Linked DNA regions of Homo sapiens: region 1 is linked to region 2. The links are contacts of gene promoters, found by promoter capture Hi-C in human tissues and cell types (Jung and others, 2019). All regions are on one chromosome and are shown on one strand. Each heading gives the region's core, a stretch centred on a gene start or on the middle of the fragment in contact. The rest is flanking DNA. Distances are from core to core; before and after follow the strand shown.

Evidence for each region. The method cuts DNA at HindIII sites, captures the fragments that hold promoters and counts their contacts. A contact is called where the count stands out against the background at its distance.
Region 1: a fragment that was not itself captured here is called in contact with the fragment with the promoter of RPS19BP1 in region 2 in 1 of the 25 tissues and cell types used here (IMR-90 fibroblasts).

What each region holds. Positions count from the first base shown.
Region 1 is chr22:39,838,314-39,841,974 of GRCh38, forward strand. All of the region lies in intron 3 of ENTHD1 (ENTH domain containing 1), which reads right to left. Among named protein-coding and RNA genes, the nearest start is that of ENTHD1, 54 kb to the right of the region's middle. RefSeq lists an enhancer at 997-1,046. The HindIII fragment of the contact is 3,011 bases long and covers 230-3,240 here.
Region 2 is chr22:39,531,036-39,534,560 of GRCh38, forward strand. It overlaps RPS19BP1 (ribosomal protein S19 binding protein 1), which reads right to left and starts at 1,713. Exons shown (of 4, transcript NM_194326.4): 1 at 1,652-1,713; 2 at 1,360-1,488. The coding sequence starts at 1,703. RefSeq lists enhancers at 927-1,442, 1,443-1,958, 1,748-1,807, 1,858-1,907 and silencers at 1,168-1,297, 1,478-1,637. The HindIII fragment of the contact is 6,935 bases long and covers 1-3,525 here.

The sequences.
Region 1 (3,661 bases), core at 485-2,984, 310 kb after region 2:
TTCTTTGCTTTTAGCAACACTGAAAAATGACTTCATCAAGTTAACAGTCAACAAGAGATAAAAATATATTTTATAATAAATCACTATATAATTTCCAGCATATTACTTGGAAGAAATTCATAGAATTGACTGACACTATTATAATAAAGCACCTTCTTGTCCCATCTATGATTTAGGTGAACAAGTTTTCTCAGCATTTATCTTTATACAAATATAAATAAAATAGAGGCAGGATTTCTGCTGAGCCCTGCTTGTAGCTAGCAATCAGTCACACTCCTATGTGGGCAAACGAGCAGTTCCAATTATCTCATAAAACCATATATTTCTAATAAAATTATATTTAACAAATATTCATACAAATTTATAATGCATTTATGTGGTTTTGATTGACTGCATACTAACAATAATTGTAATAAGTCAATCTAGAAGAAATATTAAAACCTTTGGTCAGAGAAAATTTAGAAAAATAATTTCAATTTTATATCTATTTGATGTAGAGAAGATTTCCAAGCATAAAAATATTTTATATTAGAATAAAATTCTGCAAGAAATGTAGAATAAACATATGACTTCAGAGAGAAAAGGGAATAATGTAAAATTTCTAACAGTTAAGGACTTCATGTATTTTTTTTTAAATGAATGACTACAGTTATCAATCACAATGGTATTTAGATTCCCTTAGATACATTTAAAAGATGGATATAACTTAACAGTTTGCTTGTTTTTTCTTTTCTTTTGTCCTTAATGTCAATATTTACAACGTGCCAGAATTATATCCTTTGCAGTTATTTATACTTATAAAACTTCATATATCAACTCAAAAATGTGTGAGGAGGTACATAGTGTTTCAAAATCATTTTAGGGGTTATGCAAAACAAAAAAAAATACTGAAAAGCGGTAATATAAGGCACAGTCTTTACCTTCTAGAAGTTTATAGCCTGACTAGGTATATAAGTCTAACATACAGACTTACAGGAAACAGAGAACAATTATATGCTAAACGTTCTTGAATTAATTAATTTTAGGAACAGATACTCTAAGGAGGAAAACAACAATGTGCACCAGAGTAATCAAAAACAACCACAAAGAGGAAGTAAAATTTGAACAAGGCTTTGAAGGACGGCTAGGATTCCAATAAGGGTAGAGGCAAAGATAAATTACTCCGAGCAGAAGGACCTACGTGGGCAAAGGGAGAAAGTATGGTAGATGCCAGAGATACTGAAGAAATAAGAATCTTTCATTTATGGTTGTAACTTTTCATTTTGTTTTAACTTCACATAAAAGTGAATAATTAAAATGAGCTTATTTGGGGCTTGGAGATTTTGTAGCTAATATTGGCAAAGAGTGGTGACTTGGGGCTTAGATCATCTATCTACTTTCACTGGATTTAATCAACTACATTATCACTTGCTCGGCATTCAGCAACTAAATTATCTTGGAAATCATATGGTCTTAGGTTTTAGACATTACAGAAGTAGATTAGTAAAAATGTCAGATGGTCAATTTTGAAGTAAATTTTGAGAGAAACTGAAGAATAGCAAGAAATGTGAAAGAAAAAATATCTTGCATGTTGGAGATGCATTTTGGCCTAGAATAGCCTAAATGTAGTAAACCTATCTTATGAGGCAAGAAAGAAAGCAATTAGAATATAGTGGGTCTATGGAAACTCATTAAATTTTTCTTTCAGTATCAGATAGCATAACACTGGAAGTGAGGTGTGCTTAATTAGATTTGGTAATTACACAACATTTATTTCTGGATTTTCACAAGCAAGTAGGAGAGAACATACATTTAGTTCCTTATAGTTCCTTAGTGGAAATGAGATCCCTTTGGTCTTGTAAGCTACTTATCAATTGACACTGTGAAGTCACAAGCCAGTGAAGACTAGTATGTGAATGAGAAACCTCAGAGGAAAAAGTAATGATGCTGCAGGAAATGAAGCCATTGAGTCATTCAAAGATGAGTGCTTCGATACCAAGGTTGTAAGTACTTTGTGGAAACTATCTAGAAAGAAGCTGTACATCCCACTGAGCCCGCACCACTCAGATAATACCACAAAGCAGAACTTGTGAACCCTCCGATATTTCTTAGATGAGATATCAAACTGACGTTCAAATTATCAGGCATTAGCAATGCACCATACATTTTGGAAATGCAACGCTCCATAAGTTGAACAGATTTCCAAATTGTTCCATTTATTATTTAGCATATAATAACCATGTCCTTTTAGGTGTAATGTAAGTGAATTAAATAATTTGCTTAAAAAATTAATTTTTAGTAACAGACAGATATATTGCATTATAGAAAATATTCAGTGGGCTAAGGAAGAGCTAGTAAGATCTAAAAGTCAAGTCTCATGGTGCTTAAATTTATATCTAACTTTTACAGAATTGTGAATTTGGAACCTTGACTCCAATTTCGTTGTTTTGGCACATAGTTAAGCATCTTTTTTTTTTTTTGAGACGGAGTCTCGCTCTGTCGCCCAGGCTGGAGTGCAGTGGCGTGATCTCAGCTCACTGCAAGCTCCGCCTCCCAGGTTCACCATTCTCCTGCCTCAGCCTCCCGAGTAGCTGGGACTACAGGCACCCACCACTGCCCCTGGCTAATTTTTTGTATTTTTAGTAGAGACAGGGTTTCACCGTGGTCTCGATCTGCTGTCCTCGTGATCCACCCACCTCGGCCTCCCAAAGTGCTGGGATTACAGGTGTGAGCCACCGCGCCTGGCTAACTTAAGCATCTTAAAGTAGTTGGTATTTGTCATATTTTTTTTAACTTTGATTTTGTAATAATTTTAAGCTTACAGAAAAGTAACAAGAATAGTACAAAGAATGCCCATATGGTCTTCATCCCAGATTCACCAATTGTTAACATTTTGCCCCATTTGCTTTATTCTCTATTCTCATTATCTATTTATGTACACATATTATTACTGTCCTATATTTTAAATCTAGAGGAAAAGCCATTGTAGGTTGGGTTCCCTAGGAAACAGACTCTCAGACTCAGATTTGCATGTGGGAGAGCCATTAGGGAGCGCTCTTAGAAACTACCAGTGAGTCTAAGTCTCTTTGTAGGTCACTCAGGACTTGCTTTATGAATCTGGGTGCTCCTGTATTGGGTGCATATATATTTAGGATAGTTAGCTCTTCTTGTTGAATTGATCCCTTTACCATTATGTAATGGCCTTCTTTGTCTCTTTTGATCTTTGTTGGTTTAAAGTCTGTTTTATCAGAGACTAGGATTGCAACCCCTGCCTTTTTTTGTTTTCCATTTGCTTGGTAGCTCTTCCTCCATCCTTTTATTTTGAGCCTATGTGTGTCTCTGCACGTGAGATGGGTTTCCTGAATACAGCACACTGATGGGTCTTGACTCTTTATCCAATTTGCCAGTCTGTGTCTTTTAATTGGAGCATTTAGTCCATTTACATTTAAAGTTAATATTGTTATGTGTGAATTTGATCCTGTCATGATGCTGTTAGCTGGTTATTTTGCTCGTTAGTTGATGCAGTTTCTTCCTAGTCTCGATGATCTTTACATTTTGGCATGATTTTGCAGCGGCTGGTACTGGTTGTTCCTTTCCATGTTTAGTGCTTCCTTCAGGAGCTCTTTTAGGGCAGGCCTGGTGGTGACAAAATCTCTCAGCATTTGCTTGTCTGTAAAGTATT
Region 2 (3,525 bases), core at 463-2,962:
AAAGTGGCAGCTGCAGAGGTGTTCTTTCCATTGGCTGCGAGGCTTGCCATTCCTCTCACTCAGCATCTATGTGCCAAAACCTGTGGTGGACACCAAGGCTGCGGACAAGCCCAAGGAGGTGTGTGCCTTTAGGAGCTTCCATCCAACAGGGGAGGTGGGTGAGCACCCAGGACACGACAGTGAGACAAGGGCTGGGACAGATGGGAATGACCTCTGGCACTCCACACTCCTGCTTCATGGCAAGTATCGCTGGGGCTCAAACCTGTCTCACTTTCCTGCCTCCAGACTTTGGCTTAAGTTGTATTTCCTCCTTGGAATTCATAATTCTTTTAACAAATACTTTAACATCTTTTATGCATTAGACTCTAGGGATTCAGACACAGTAAGAGCTTGCCACGTCCTGACACATGTCAAAATATCACCATCTTGCCTACACCAGCCCCTCCGAAAGTCTTTATGTCTATTAAGTGACACTACGTCCCCCAAGAAACTAGGCTCCACCTTCACAGCCAATTCACCACTAAAACCCCTCTAAAGGCTGAAATTCTCTGCTGCCCCCTCTTTAACATATTTTCCACCTGCACAATTCTCTTGTTATCTCTGCTGCTATAGCCACTGCCCAGGCCACAGCATGTCCTATTTCAATGGAGTAGGTAATAGCAGCACTCTGGAGACACAATGCCCGGGCAGCCACAATGCCTGTACCACCTGGGCAGGTGCCTTTTTCTGAATCTGTAAAACGGGGGTGATAGTAGTATCGACCTCAAAGGGCTGCTGTAAGGATCAAACGAGCTTACATTTGTACAGCACTTAGAATCAGCACCTGGTACAGAGTGTTAGTGAATGTGTTTAAATGCTCCATCTTTGATCCTCATTCACTAGGTCACCTTTACCAGCCTTTATTTTTTCAAATTCTCAAAGGCAACAACCTCCTTTCTGACTCAGGACCTTTGCACATACTATTCTTCCTAGAATATTCTCCTACTTTTCACCTAGCTCACTCTTATACATCCTTCAGCTCTCGGCTGAAATGTCGCTTCCTCAGAGAAGGCTGACTTGGCCTAAGTCCCCATCAGAGTACCGTAGTCTTTTAATTCATAGGCTTCAATGCACTTAGCAATGACACACTGGGTTTGATATTCTTTGATGCTTCTCTCCCCACTAGGGCCGTAGTCCACGAGGACCAGGACGGTGGCGTGTTCTGTCACCTTCGTATGTCCAGGGCCCCGCTCCGCGCCTGGCACACAGTAGGTCTAGCAATACCGGGCGAACGCTTCAAGCCCTGCCTCAAGCGCCACCTCCTCTGGGGCGCAGGTCCCAGCACCGGAGGCAGCACTTTCAGCCCCTTCCCGAACTTACCCAGTGCCGACTTGGGCACCTTTCCCTTGGCCGAGTTCCGCAGTTTCTGGGCCTGAATTGCCTTCGTCTTCCGGGGCCGTTTCACCGGAGCCCCTCTCGGCTTGGCCTGACCTGGAGGGTCCCGGGGGGCTGTAGGGGAAGAGAGAGGAAGAGACCCAGGTCAGAGGGCGCGCAGCGTTCCCATGCCACTGGGGCTAAGCCCGGCCTGGATTGTTTTCCATCCAGGGCTCCCGCCCGCAGCCACTACCATCCTCCTGCCCGCGCCGGACGTCCCCTGGCCAGCCCTCCTCACCCTCGGACGCCGCCAGCAGCTCCAGGCCCCGCCGCAGCAGGGCGGCGGACATGGCGGCGCTTGGCTCCGCCCACGAGCCTCACACTACTTCCGACCTGGCAGTCCCTGTCGTCTCGGCGGAAACCCGAGCCCGAACAGAGGGATCCGGAGGGGGATGGGCGGAAGTGCCCATCTTTCTTAGGACGCATGCGTTAGGGGTTTACACTTGAGCGGAAGAAGGGGCGGAAACTGGAGGCGGGTCCAAGGCGCAGAAAGACACATGTGTTACTCAATCCCAATCTACCTGGCTCCTGGCGCTCAGTCCCCTCCTTCCCCGGAAGCCGTCCGCAACCTGCTCCGCCGGGTTGGCCAATCCTCTCGGGTCTCGTGGCTCCGTGGCGGGCTAGGATGGGGACAGGGCGGAGTGTTTTTCATATACTTCAACCAGCACTAGGTATCGCACAGGTTGAGTGCAGCATGAGAATCCAGTTGTCTTCCCTTAAGCCAGACATTAAAGACATATCTTTGTTTTGAAAACTACAATTATTTCTCATAAAATACGTTGTTTATGTTACCAAGCAATGGGTTTATTGTCATTTTAAGTGAATTAATGAATATGTAAAATTTTTGTTTTAGTTTCTAGTATGGCAAATATCAGTTGCCTACATACAAAAGTTCTTTGGGATCCTGAATTTTTTAAAATTTATTTTATTTAATTAAATTAATTTTTTTTTTGAGACGGAATCTCGCTCTGTCGCCCAGGCTGGAGTGCAGCGATCTCGGCTCACTGCAACTTCCGCCTCCCGGGTTCAAGCGATTCTTTTGCCTTAGCCTCCCGAGTAACTGAGATTACAGACGCCCGCCACCACGGCCGGCTAATTTTCTTTTTAAAAAATTTTTAGTAGAGACGGGGTTTTGCCATGTTGGCCAGGCTGGTCTTGAACTCCGGACCTCAAGTGATCCGCCCACCTCAGCCTCCCAAAGTGCTGGGATTACAGGAGTGAGGGGATTCTGAAGTTTTAAATGTAAGAAGCTTCTTAGACCAAAACATTTGAGCCCCTCTGGCCTAGAAGTGACACTGCTTACCTGGGGGAGGAGCCCTGGGCTTGTTCGCTGCTCCATCTGCAGCTGGCAGCCCAGCACCTGGCATGGAGAAGACACGCAATAAGTGAACGGTGAATCAGAAGGGACCACTGGGTTCACTCAGCCGGGTTCTGAGGGCCTTCTGTGTACTTGACACCACAGAGTGTGGGACCTGGAGTTCGTCCTCCGGGATAGACCACACCGTTTAAGCTCCATCGGCTAGAGAGTAATAATAACAACCAACACAAACTCAAGCATTTGTGCTGTTCTACGTGCTTTACATTTGTTAACTTGTTTATCCCCCCTACCCTTCCAGGTAGGAATTGTCTTTTGCATTTTACAGACGAGGAAACAAACACAGAGAGGCGAAGGTCACACGGGTGGAGTCAGGGGTGGGAGTTAAGACTGGCAGCCTGGCCGCAGGATTTGTGGGGGCGCTCCTGTCCCAGCCACCAGGGAGAGCAGTGCTGTGGTGCTGGGTGGGGCCTGTCAAGCCATGGGGTCAGGTAGGCCCCTGGAGGGTGAGGAGGAGCTGACCATGTATGGGCAGCGGGGATTGTTCTAGGCGGAGACCGCTGTAGCGAGGACCTATCCCCTGTGACACACGAGTGGCCCTTCAGGATGCCATGCTGGGCTGGAGGGTCGCAAAGGCCTCAGACTCCATGATTTTGTCCTAAGGGGAGTGTGGGGCCTGGAACCCAGTGACTGTTCAGACATATGCCTCCTTCCTGCTTCTAACATAGCCGGATTGTTGTCTTACTTATTATGTGTATTGCGTATTGTCTGTTTCCCCGCCCATACCCCACTGTAAG